Linked DNA regions of Homo sapiens: region 2 is linked to region 1. The links are contacts of gene promoters, found by promoter capture Hi-C in blood cells and fetal thymus (Javierre and others, 2016). All regions are on one chromosome and are shown on one strand. The core of a region is centred on a gene start or on the middle of the fragment in contact, and the rest is flanking DNA. Distances in the headings are between cores, read along the strand shown. Region 1 overlaps NUP85 (nucleoporin 85). Region 2 holds the start of CDR2L (cerebellar degeneration related protein 2 like).

What was found. Contacts are between HindIII fragments. The CHiCAGO score rates a contact against its expected background, and 5 or more counts as called.
Region 2: a contact is called between the fragment with the promoter of CDR2L here and a fragment that was not itself captured in region 1, in 3 of 17 cell types (activated CD4 T cells, naive B cells and naive CD4 T cells). The highest score is 6.3, in activated CD4 T cells.

The regions. Positions count from the first base shown.
Region 1 is chr17:75,207,376-75,214,009 of GRCh38, forward strand. NUP85 (nucleoporin 85) reads left to right here. Exons shown (of 19, transcript NM_024844.5): 2 at 1,152-1,245; 3 at 2,448-2,610; 4 at 4,617-4,687; 5 at 5,701-5,744. Among named protein-coding and RNA genes, the nearest start is that of NUP85, 5.0 kb to the left of the region's middle. RefSeq lists an enhancer at 403-970. The HindIII fragment of the contact is 1,074 bases long and covers 1,749-2,822 here.
Region 2 is chr17:74,984,678-74,991,311 of GRCh38, forward strand. CDR2L (cerebellar degeneration related protein 2 like) reads left to right here and starts at 2,955. Exons shown (of 5, transcript NM_014603.3): 1 at 2,955-3,445. The coding sequence starts at 3,367. It overlaps LOC124904058 (a long non-coding RNA gene), which reads left to right. Exons shown (of 2, transcript XR_007065906.1): 2 at 1-172. RefSeq lists an enhancer at 2,793-3,294 and silencers at 2,861-2,940, 2,961-3,050. The HindIII fragment of the contact is 10,272 bases long and covers 1-6,307 here.

The DNA of each region.
Region 1 (6,634 bases), core at 1,036-3,535:
GGTTTCTCCATGTTGGTCAGGCTGGTCTGGAACTCCTGACCTCAGGTGATCTGCCGGCCTCAGTCTCCCAAAGTGCTGGGATTACAAGTGTGAGCCACTGCGCCTGGCCTCATTCTTTTTTTGAGACGGATTCTCACTCTGTCACCCAGAGTGGAGTGCAGTGGCGTGATCTCAGCTCACTGCAACCTCTGGCTCCTGGGTTCAAGCGATTCTTCTGCCTCAGTCTCCTGAGTAGCTGAGATTACAGGTGCGTGCCACCACACCCAGCTAATTTTTGTATTTTTGGTAGAGATGGGGTTTCACCATCTTGGTCAGGCTGGTCTCCAAAGCCTGACCTCGTGATCAGCCTGCCTCGGCCTCCCAAAGTGCTGGGATTACAGGCATGAGCCACCGCGCTTGGCTAGGAGTTCGAGATCAACCTGGCCAACATGGTGAAACCCCATCTCTACTAAAAAAATACAAAAATTAGCCTGGTTTGGTGGCGCGTGCCTGTAATCCCACCTACTCAAGAAGCTGAGGCAGGAGAATCACTTGAACCCAGCAGGCAGAGGTTGCAGTGAGTCGAGATTGCGTCACTGCAGTCCAGCCTGGGCAACAAGAGTTCGAACTCCTGACCTCAGATGATCTGCCCGCCTTAGCCTCCCAAAGTGCTGGCAGGAGCCACCCCGCTGCCGGCCCAAAATGAATTTTTCTTACCAGTGTTATAAGGAAATGTTATTGAAGGATACAGTGTTATTAGAGGACCAGCTGTGCTCTTCACTTAAAGTGTTTTTCAGCAGGGCGGGCACGGTGGCTCGCGCCTGTAGTCCTAGCACTTTGGGAGGCTGAGGCGGACGGATCACCTGAACTCAGGAGTTTGTGACCAGCCTGGGCAATATGGTGAAACTCTATCTCTACTAAAAATGAAAAAAAAAAAAAAAATAGCCGGGTGTGGTTGCACACACCTGTAGTCCCAGCTACTCAGGAGGTTGAGGCAGGAGAAGCCTTTGAACCCAGGAGGCGGCGATTGGAGCAAGCTGAGATTACACCACTGTACACCAGCCTGTTAGAGTGAGTCTTTGTCTCAAAAAAAAAAAAAAAAAAAAAAGAATGGAACAACTTCAGTAAGAAGAACATTTTTCATTTTAGATTTCTATGCCTTATTTTACTAGTTGATTCCAGGCGTGAATTCCAAGAAGAACCAAATGTATTTTGACTGGGGTCCAGGGGAGATGCTGGTATGTGAAACCTCCTTCAACAAAAAAGGTAGGGTTTTTTTTCTTCCAAATTATCCATCTTGGCACATTTGGTTGTTTTTCTGTTTATTACCTCAGATTTTACTAGTTGTGGACTGAAACAGTTGAATTTATTTTGTACTATTTTAATTTTCTCTATTTTGTTTTCAAGATACAACAGGGTTTTGTTGTGTCACCTGGGCTGGAGTACAGTGTGATCATGGCTCACTGCAGCCTCTACCTCTTGGGCTCAAGTGATCCTCTGCCTCAGTCTTCCTAGTAGCTGAGACTACAGGTCACCATGCCACCACGCCCAGCTAATTTTTTTTTCTTTGTAGAGATGGGAGTCTCATTTTGTTGCCTAGGCTGGTCTCGCACTCCTGGCCTCAAGCGATCCTGTTGCATTTTGGCATTTTTATTTTTGAAATGTTAGCTATTTTAGATTTTCATTGATTTTTGAGATCTTGAAGATGTTGAATCCCGGAAAAAAATTAATAGTTTTCATGAAAAATTTTCTTCATATTTAAAATGTCAAGCTTTTTATCCCTTTTTCTTTGTCCAAAGTGACCAAATTCCTATCAGTAGCTCCCTTATTGTGAACCTTGCAGATGCTTGGCCGTCACTTTTGTGTCCACAGCATGGATTCAGCTGAATAATAGTTCTGTAGGCTGAGCTGAGCCGTAGCATCCAAGGCACAGATGGAGCTGGAGAGTGACATAGCTTGTCCTTGGCTTGATTTTCCTGAGTTCCATCAGCTATTGGATAGGATGTGAATCTTTTTCTTTTCCTGATACAGTGATACAGTCTCCTTCCAGTAGAAGGATAAAACTGGAATCTTGACATTTGATTTGCTTTCTTTTTTTTTTTTTTTTTTTGAGACGGAGTCTCGCTCTGTCCAGGCTGGAATGCAGTGGTGTGATCTCGGCTCACTGCCACCTCCGCCTCCCGGTTTGAAGCAATTCTCCTGCCTCAGTCTCCTGAGTAGCTGGGAATGAAGGCATGTGCCACCACGCCCAGCTAATTTTTGTATTTTTAGTAGAGACAGGGTTTTGCTATGTTGGCCAGCCTGGTCTCGAATTCCTGACCTCGTGATCTGCCTGCCTTGGCCTCCCAAAGTGCTGGGATTATAGGCAAGAGCCACCATGCCCGGCCACAGAAAATTTTTTTAGAGTAGATTCACTTTTGGAGATGATCATAATAGATGTTAAATTTTTTTTTTCTGTTTGGTTTCAGAAAAATCAGAGATGGTGCCAAGTTGCCCCTTTATCTATATCATCCGTAAGGATGTAGATGTTTACTCTCAAATCTTGAGAAAACTCTTCAATGAATCCCATGGAATCTTTCTGGGCCTCCAGAGAATTGACGAAGAGTTGACTGGAAAATCCAGAAAATCTCAGTAAGTTGGTTGCTGTTTGGTGTTGAAGCCCACACTACACTGTGGAAAGCCAAATGAAGTACATTGTTGTCTTTTTGTGTGTTTTATGGGTTGCGTAAAGAAATAAGAGACTCCTGGTTCTAGTTGAGGCATGAGTACTGGACAGTGTACATTAGCAGTGATGGGAAGACTTAGCGGGAATATGCAAATGCTATTGATGGGCTGGCTTGACAAGCTTTATTTATATTCATATTTTACTTAGCCTCTAAAGAAGAAAATTTAGGCCACACAAGCATGTGAGAGTCGTTGAATGAGGTCACATTGTTGGGAGATTTGAAAATTAATATAAACCTAACAGTTTTGTCTCTAAAAAATTATGGTTCAGACGTTATTTGACAACAGACCAGAAAACTCTCGTACTATTTATAGATTAGGATTTTCTTGAATTGTAGTTCATAACTTCATCATTATCAGAGTGGTACTTGTTAATTGTAGACTTTTGGGACCCACCTCAGATCATCAAAATCAAAATCTCCGTGGTTGGATCTTAAAATCTCCAGCACACTGAAGTTTAAGAACTCCTGTGTTAGATTTTTGTCAGCGTCCCTTCACATGGATGGCTAGGGAATGGGCAGTGTTGGTATGTTACTTCTTTGATAAGCTTTTCACAAATGAATCATTCTGGACAAGACTCAGGTCAGCTTCTGTGTGAGTGTGTGCAAGAGTGATTATTGGTTGTTTTTCTGTTTTTTTTCGAGGCAGAGTTTCGCTCTGTCACCCAGGCTGGAGTGCAGTGACGCGTTCTCCGCTCACTGTAAGCTCTGCCTCCTGGATTCACGCCATTCTCCTGCCTCAGCCTCCCGAGTAGCTGGGACTACAGGCGCCTGCCACCACATCCGGCTAATTTTTTGTATTTTTAGTAGAGACGGGGTTTCACCGTGTTAGCCAGGATGGTCTCGATCTCGTGACCTCGTGATCCACCTGCTTCGGCCTCCCAAAGTGCTGGGATTACAGACGTGAGCCACTGTGCCTGGCCCTGTTTTTTTTTTTTTTTTTGAGACAGAGTTTCACTCTGTCACCCAGGCTGGAGTGCAGTGGCGCAATCTTGGCCCACTGCAGCCTCTGCCTCCTGGGTTGAAGCCATTCTCCTGCCTCAGCCTCCTGAGTAGCTGGGATTACAGGTGCGTGCCACCACGCCTGGCTAATTTTTGCATTTTTAGTAGAGATGGGGTTTCATCATTTTGGCTGGGCTGGTCTTGAACTCCTGACCTCAAGTGATCTGCCCACCTCAGCGTCCCAAAGTGCTGGGATTATAGGAGTGAGCCACTGCACCTGGCCTGATTATTGGATTTAAGGGACTCTAGTGGAGAATATTGGTGAGTTTGAGAAATCTATTGTCACTTCTAGGAAAAAAACATGTCAAAAGTCCTGTAATTCCTTGCTGGCAGGGGACCCTGTCTTATTCTTTTTTTTTTTTTTTCAGATGGAGTCTCACTCTGTCGCCCAGGCTGGAGTGCAATGGCATGATCTTGGCTCACTGCAACCTCCGCCTGCCGGGTTCAAGAGATTCTCCTGCCTCAGCCTCCTGAGTAGCTGGGATTTTTGTATTTTTAGTAGAGACAGGGTTTCACCAGGTTGGCCAGGCTGGTCTCAAACACCTGACCTCAGGTGATCTGCCCACTTTCACCTCCCAAAGTGCTGGGATTACACGCCTGAGCCACCGGGCCTGGCCAGTAAATACATTTATGTATCTTTTTTATTTTTTTGAGACAAGGTCTGACCAGTAGATTTCATCTGCAACAATTAATGGCAGTATGGGTTTGTGGATATTAACTTTAGCCCATGGGTTGTTTTGTGGCGTTTTATTTTGTTGTCCAAGTTGTTCCAGCTTCAGAAGGTTAGGAGCTCCTTCACAACGGCTCTCCTCTTTCTTTCAGCAAATTTCTGCATTTATTTGAGTGTTTCCTTCCTTTGTGGCACTACAAGATGTTCCAGGCTCATCTTGTGTGTTATTTCATTTTTTGTAGATTGGTTCGAGTGAGTAAAAACTACCGATCAGTCATCAGAGCATGTATGGAGGAAATGCACCAGGTTGCAAGTAAGGACTGTGTGCGCGTGCGCGCGTGTGTGTGTGTGTGTGTGTGTGGGTATTTTGAGTATTTATCTATGCATAAATACTGTGAGGTAAAGTTTGATTGATATTCCAGTCCAAAACTTATTTTTCCATCTTTCATAATCCTTACTTTTTTGGTAATCATTTAGAGGTTTTTTTTTTTGTTGTTGTTTTTTTTTTTTTTTTTTTTTTTTTTTTTTTTTTTTTTTGAGACCGAGTGTTGCTCTGTCGCCCAGGCTGAGGTGCTGTGGCATGAACTCAGGTCACTGCAACCTCCACCTCCCAGGTTCAAACGATTCTCTAGCCTCAGCCTCCTGAGTAGCTGGGACTACAGTTGTACACCACCAAGCCCAGAGTTCTGGGATTACAGGAGTCAGCCACTGTGCCTGGAGTTTTTTTTTTTTTTTTTTTTTTTTTTTGAGACAAGGTTGCCCAGGCTGGAGTGCAAAGAAACATTATGGCTCACTGCAGTCATGAGCTCACCGCCTGGGCTCAAGTGATCTTCCTACCTCATCCTTCCAAGTAGTTGGGACTGCAGGTGTGTACTACCATGCCCAGCTAATTTAAACAGTTTTTGTCCAGTTTTCCTCAGAGAACTTTGTTCTGATAATTTTTAAATTATTTGTAGAAACGGGGTCTCCCTAATTTTTCCAGGCTGTTCTTGAACTCCTGGGCTCAAGCAGTCCTTTGACATCAGCCTCCCAAAGTGTCGGGATTACAGGTGTGAGCCACTGTGCTTGGCATGTCAGAGACCTTTATGGTAGCTGTGTTGCAGTTGAAAGTGCCATTTTGTAACTTGAGGGCTTTTGGTTTGAGAATTGAAGGGATATGAAGCATTAACAGCAACAAAAAAATCCATAATTAAAAGAGATTATAATGTCTTTTAATTTTTCTCATTAAAATAAACAGAGGCTCAAGCCATAGACCCTGGAATATTCAGCTATGACAATAAGCCTAAGAGTTCCATTGCTCACTTAAAATGTTTTGTGTTTTGTTAGTTGCTGCTAAAGATCCAGCCAATGGCCGCCAGTTCAGCAGCCAGGTAAGGGGAGTCACCTTTATTGTTTTAGCACCACTGTGTCCTGTGTCCTGGGCACCCACCTGGGGTGGCTTTGCAGTTCCTGTTATGGCAGAAGTCTCTTCTTTTCAGGTAGATAGGCAGCTCCTTTGGGTGACAGTGATTGTCTTGCCCCCTTCAAGGTGTAGCTCACAAGGAAGTGCTTGTTAAATACTTGAGTGAATGTTCGGTTCCTTTTTTTTTTTTTTGAGATGGAGTCTTGCTCTGTCACCCAGGCTGGAGTGCCCTGGGTTCAAGCATTTCTCCTGTCTCAGCCTCCCGAGTAGCTGGGATTATAGGTGCATGCCACACCAAGCCCAGCTACTTTTTGCATTTTTAGTAGAGATGGGGTTTCACCATGTTGGCCAGGCTGGTCTTGAACTTTTGACCTCAAGTGATCCACCCGCCTCGACCTCCCAAAGTGGTGGGATTACAGGTGTAAGCCACCGTGCTGGCCCTGAATGTTCCGTTCTTATGGAACATATATGTCCTGACCAAATTGTGTTGAGGGGTTGTCACCTGAAATGGAGAAGTAATCTTGTGAGATCACTGCTCGGTCTCATAAACACTCCTCACTTCTTGAACTCAACATTTTTTTTTTGAAAGACAGGGTCTCTCTGTGTTGTCAAAGCTGGTCTCGAACTCTTGGGCTCAAGTGATCCTCCTGCCTTGGCCTCCCAAAGTGCTGGGATTATAGGTGTGAGCTGCCACACCTGGCAAAACTCAAGTTTTTTTTTTTTTTTTTTTTTTTTTTTGAGACGGAGTCTCTCTCTGTCGCCCAGGCTGGAATGCAGTGGCGCGATCTCGGCTCACTGCAAGCTCCGCCTCCCAGGTTCATGCCATTCTCCTGCCTCAGCCTCCCGAGTAGCTGGGCT
Region 2 (6,634 bases), core at 1,705-4,204, 220 kb before region 1:
GAGCCAAGGACTATGGGGTGGCCTCTAGAAGGTGCAAAAGACAAGGAAACAGATACTCCCCTGGAACCTCCAGAAGGAACACAGCTTCTACCAATGCTTTGACTTTAGCCAGTGATCCTTGTCAGACTTCTACAGAATTATAAAATAATAAATTTGTGTTGTTTCAAGCCCATTAAATTTGGGGTCATTTGTTACAGAAGCAATAAGAGACAAATACAGGTATTTACTCTTTGTGTCTGGCATCTTTCACTCAACTTTTTTTTTTTAGCCCAAGCCCATGACAGTAGATCATTGTATTTGTACTATATAACATTCCATTACATGAACATGCCACATATTCTTCGTCAACTGTTGATGGACATTTGTGTTGTTTCCAGTGTGGGCGCTTATGAATACTGTGGCTATGAACTTTCTTGTACATGTCTTTGGGATAAGGTATGTGCATATTTCTCTTGCACATATATAGGAATAGAATTTCTGGGTTATAGGGTATGCATGTATAGTGGCTGCTGTGATGTATCCCCAACTCTTTCAGAACGAAAGGACCTATTCCCTTAGCTGCTGGGAGGACCCCTGGCTGGCAGTCCCAGCTGCCAGGGCTCTGTGCAAACTAGTCTCAGCTGAAAAGAACTTATTTGGCCAAGGTCACACATGCCTCCTAGGAACGACCTGTGTCATTCAATGACTGGTTGATATGTAAGGGTGGGGGATATAAAGGCCCCCTCCCCCAATGATACCTGGAATAGCTTTGAAGGGTCACCCTGGATTCAAAGTTCTTCAGGGATCAGAGGAGGCTTTTGCAGAGGCTACATACCAACCCAGCTTCTCCCCCACCAACCCTGCTTCCCTCCCTTTCCTGCAGGTGTTGATCATGAGAGCACTCCCTAGTCAACTTTCTTTCTTTTTTCTCCCTCTAATCCAATATGATTGATATCCCTAATCAACTTCCTGCATGCTAATCTCCATCTCAGGATCAGCTGCCTGGGAACACAACCTACAACAGCTTACGTTATTCAGCTTTCATGGTTATCAAGCAGTCTTTTTTTTTTTTTTTTCCAAGACGCAGTCTTGCTCTATCGCCCAGGCTGGGTGCAGTGGCGCAATCTCAGCTCACTGCAACTTCCGCCTCCCAGGTTCAAGCAATTCTCCTGCCTCAGCCTCCCAAGTAGCTAGGACTACAGGCATGTGCCACCATGCCCAGCTAATTTTGTATTTTTAGTAGAGACAGGGTTTCACCATGTTTCCCAGGCTGGTCTTGAACTCCTGACCTCAAGCGATCCACCCTCCTTGGCCTTCCAAAGCGTTGGGAATTACAGGCATGAGCCACCACGCCCGGGCAGTTTTCTAAAGTGGTTGTCGTCCTATGTATTCCCTCCAGCAGGGTGAGAGAGTTCCAGTTGCTCAACATTCTTGCCAATACTAGGTATTTTTTGTCTTTTTTTTTTTTTTTTTTTTTTTTTTTTTGAGACAGGATCTTGCTCTGTCACCCAGGCTGGAGTGCAGTGGCATGACCACAGCTCCCTACAGCCTCAACCTCCTAGACTCAAGCAATTCTCCCACCTCAGCCTCCCAAAGTATCTGGGACTACAGCCGTGTGTCATTATGCCCACCTAATTTTTATTTTTAAATTTTTTTATAGAAATAGGATCTTGCTATGTTGCCCAGGCTGCTCTTGAACTCCAGGCTCAAGTGATCCTCCCAACCTCGGCCTCCCCAGAGTTCTGGGATTATAGGCATGAACCACCACGCCTGGCCTTTTTTTTTTTTTTTTTTTTCCCTAAAGCCACTCTGGTGATTGGGTAGTGATACCTCATTGTGGTTTTCATTTGCATTTTTCTGATGGCTAAAGAAGTTCAGTACCTTGTTGCATATTTATTCAGTTATTTGTGTATCCTTTTTTGTGAATTACCTGGTCAAATCTTTTACCCACTTTTCTACTGGGTTGCGTGCCTTTTTCTTATGACTATGCAGATGTTCTTTCTGTATTCTGGATACAAGTCATTCGTTGGGTATATCACAACATTATTCAGAGATTCTCAACGGCACCAGCACATTAGGGTCCCAATAAAAATGAGTTACGTGAATGCTTGAGTCCGAACACTCTTCTAAGGAAAGAATGCTTGGACAGATGCAAGTGTGTATAGTTTTAATGGGTATAATTGGATATAGGATATGGGTCCCAAGGAAAGGAAAACAGAACCTTGAATGCAGGTAACACACCCTCAAACTTTGCCACTTTCAGCCTGTGGTTTCTAGCCACAAGCACTTAAACACGCAGTTCCCAAAGGCAACTGTAAATTAGTATTCATTCATTCAAAGAATGTCGATGGAAGGTATCAATGACCAGCATGTTGTTTGTTTTTTGTTTGTTTGTTTTTTGAGGCAGAGTCTCCCTCTGTCGCCCAGGCTGGAGTGCAGTGGCGCTATCTTGGCTCACTGCAACCTCTGCCTCCAGGGTTCAAGCGATTCTCCTGCCTCAGCCTCCCGAGTAGGCATGCGCCACCATGCCCAGCTAATTTTTGTATTTTTAATGGAGACGGGGTTTCGCCATGTTGGCCAGGCTGGTCTCGAAACCCCTGACCTCAGGCGATCTGCCCGCCTTGGCCTCCCAAGGTGCTGGAATTACAGGAGTCAGGCATCGCGCCCGACTGGTGAGCAGCCTGTTCTAGGAAGTGAGTAGCCAGCTGTGAAAGAGAAACAATATTCTTGCTTCCAGGAGATCTAGGAGAGACGACAACTTCTAAAATAGCATAATTTTAGACATGAGACATAAACTGAATAGGTCGTAGGGGGAAGTAGGACGAAAGGGTTGATCAAGCAATTCCCAGACCAAGACACCAGGAGGGTCCCGCCCTCGGCCCCGCCTCCAGCTTTGCATACATCTCCTGATTGGTCGGCGGCGGCAGGCCCCACCCCGCGGAGCCGAGCTCCGCAAGCTGCAGGCGGGCTCCGCCAAGATGCAGCGGCGGCTCCGGTTGTCGCCGGGCGGGCCAGGAGCAGCGCGGACCCGAGCCGGGCAGGGGGCGCCCGCCACGGCACCCGCGCGCTCCTAGCGCCCCAGACCCGCCTGCGGGCCCGGATCCTCCTTGCCACTGTCCCACCCGCCGTCCCTGCCACTCCACCCTTTGTGTCGCCGCAGCCCGGTGCCCCCGGCTCTGCGGGACCCCGGCCGGGCCGGACCCTGGCAAAGCGCCAGGCCCCGCGTGGGCTCCCGGCGAGCGGTTGATGGCGAGGGGGCGCGGCGCGGGCTCTGTAGCCCGAGTTCCCGACGCTGGAGGCCCGGCCCGCCTCAGCCGCATTGTCCCGGGCCGCGCGCACCGGCCCTGAGCTGCGCCGCCGCAGCACCCGCCCGCCGCCCGCGGGGCCATGCGGAGAGCCGCCGGGATGGAGGACTTCTCCGCGGAGGAAGAGGAGTCCTGGTACGACCAGCAGGACCTGGAGCAGGGTGAGCGCGGGGGCGACCGGGACAGGAAGGCGGGGAGCGCCCGGTGACCCCTGTCCGCTTCTCCATTGTTGGGCGCTATCACCCCGGGAGGGGCTGGGCTGGACCGGGCGCGCCCGACTCGGAGGAGGGACGCGTCTGGAGAACCGGGACGTGGAGAGAGGGGGCGCTGCCGGAGAAGACGCGGACCGGACGGGCGGAGACCTGCAAAAGTGGGGGGCGGGGGGCGGTCTTCCTATTTTCCCAGACGACCGGGCATCCGTCATCCAGCTCGCCCACCCCGTCCTGGAGGCAGCAACTGCTCGGCCGCCCCTGGTATTGTTACGGGGCCTGAGCGCTAGCTAGGAGTCTTCTGAGGCCGGGAGGCGGCTCCTTCGTCATGTTTTGCTGGGAGGGTGGCTTGTGTGTAGAGGGAAGTTATCTCACGCCAAATCCAGCAGCACCCGTCCCTGACAGGAATTATGAGCTCTAAGACTCCTAGAAAGTTTCCCTAACTCGCTTCCTACTCAGGGAGAAGTGGTACCGCGTCTTTGCTGGTGAAGAAGCAGAAAGTCAAGTCTCCCATCTGCCTTCGAGAGTCAGGAGTCGCTTAGCCCTCCCCTGCCCGGTCCCCTTGCAAATGGCTCATGGTTTGGAGGGGGTCAGGTTCGGGAATCCCGGCCAGTGTGCCAGGCGAGAGACCGAATAAAGAGGGATACATCTCCGCTGCCCCCAGTTGCCATCTGAGGACAGAAAGGGCGACTGGAAGGGGGTTAGAAGCTGGTGATGAGGTGGCCGAAATGACATCACTGGGAGTGGGGGGTGGGGCTGTTGGGACAGAAAGGAAGAGGAGGCCTGCTGGAGTGGAGTCAGTTCTATCCTCTCCTCCCCTAAGATGCCTCCTTCTTGGATGGTGAGAGCTGGAAGGGGCGAGGAAACATGTCCAGGGAGAAGTGACCTTCCCATGGCCTCCAGCAAGCTGGGGGGTGTGGACATAAGTCTGCTGCAGTTTGTGCCATTGTGGCCTGCTGTGGTGTGCCCACACCCTGGTCTCCATCCACAAGGCTCCAGAGGGCTGGCTTTGCCCTGATGTGCAGCAGCTATCCGGATTCTGAAGCCCCTGACCTACTTCCCCACATGGCCAAGACTGGCTGGCAGATGAGGCTCTGTCCTTGTGCTGAGGACAAGGGTTAATCATAGCCTCAGGGGGACCAGGGTGGGACTGGGGATGCTGGACTAGGCCCTGCCATGGTCTGTGCCCTGGACTCTGGCCTCAGCCTCCTTGGCTGAAATGAGATACAGCTCCTCTCAAACACACACACACACACACACACACACACACACACACATCCACACATTGTGACAACCCCCTCTCCCATCCTGGGCAGTAAATTTTTCCATGAACACCTATTAGGCTCCCCTTAAGTACCAGACACCATCCTGGGAGCTAGGAATAGTCACAGCCCTGACCCTGAAGGTATACCCTGGCAGGTGAAGGAGGCAGGCTTGTAACTAAGTGTAGGTGGCACAGTATTTTTTTCTTTTTTCTTTTTATTTATTTATTTATTTATTTTCAGACAGAGTCTCCCTCTGTCACCCAGGTTGGAGTGTAATGGTGCGATCTCAGCTCACTGCAACCTCCATCTCCCGGGTTCAAGTGATTCTCCTGCCTCAGCCTCCTGAGTAGCTGGGACCACACCTGGCTAATTTTTGTATTTTTAGTAGAGACAGGGTTTCACCATGTTGGCCAGGCTGCTCTCAAACTCCTGACCTCAGATGATCCACCCGCCTTGGCCTCCCGAAGTGCTGGGATTACAGGCGTGAGCCACCACGCCCGGCTGGTGGCACAGTATTATGGGCAGTGGGGAGGGCTTCCTGGAAGAGCCAGGCTTAGAAAGAAAGATCAGAAACTGAGTTCTTGAGAAGATGGTTTTCAGGGAGGCCGATGCCAATATTGTTGCTGTCTCACTTAATTCCTGCACCCCTAATGAAGGCTTTGGCACTGTTCCTGGCCCAGAAATGGGAAAGGAGCCAGGGCATAGAGGTGGGAGATGCGCAGAGATGTGCAGCTTCTTGAGAGAGAGAAGGATCTGAGACTCCAGCTGCGCTGGGTGGCCGTGCTCTGGGCTGCCGGGAGGGATGGGCCCGGCAGGCCTCTGCTTCTCTGGCCCTGCTGGTCTGCAGCTGTTGGCCTGGCCTGGCAGCTCCAATGGTAGCCAAAGGCCAGGAACCAGGAGGGAAAGCAGAAATGAGACAGAATAAACTGGAGCTTCCTGCCAAAAGCTGGATGTCTGCTTACTGTGGGCCAGGTACTGTGCTGAGCCTGAGGACATAATCTCTGCCCTCAGAGGACTCCACGTTACATTAGAGAAGACAGAAATAGGACCAAACTCACAATGGCGTCAGAGTGAGGGGTTCTGCAGCTGTAGGCCCAGCAACGGGGACAGCAGAGACTTAGAAAGGTTTATGCCAAGGCCCTTTTGAGCTGGAGGCTCCCCAGGAGAGGGAGGGAAGAAGGCATTCCAGGGGGAAGCGATGCTTGTACCAAGTCATGGAGCGACATGAGAAGGCTGGAAAATAGGGAGGGAGGGGCTGAAGGAAGCATCAGACACGGGTTCTGTGGGGCATTCCCGTGGGCCCTGCCCGCCCTGTGCCCCAGGGGCCAGGCATGGAGAGCTGGATGGTGGGACGGAGCACGGGCCAAAGGCCAGCCATATTGGGTGTCAAAGGCCTGTTGCATCTCCCAACCCACAAATTCTCTTCCACCCAGCTGCTCCCTGGTTGCCTGTGAGTGGCCCAGAAATGGTTTTCTCAGCCAGCCACCTGGTCTTCCCTCCTGTCTGTTTCCTCCTGCCCAAAGGGCAGGCCCTGATTCCACTTTCCAGAAGCTTGACTGTAGAGATCCTGTTTGGCTTTGATGCTCTGTCCTGGTGGAAAGCAGCCGTGGGACAAGTGAGGTCCTAGATTCTCGCTGTGTTCCCTCTGCCCACTGCCACGAGCATTTATAAAAATAGAAAAAGCCAGCTGGGCACAGCAGCTCACACCTGTAATCCCAGCACTTTGGGAGGCCAAGGCGGGCGGATCACCTGAGGTCGGGAGTTCGAGACTAGCCTGACCAACATGGAGAAACCCCGTCTCTACTAAAAATACAAAATTAGCCAGGCGTGGTGGCACATGCCTGTAATCCCAGCTACTCAGGAGGCTGAGCCAGGA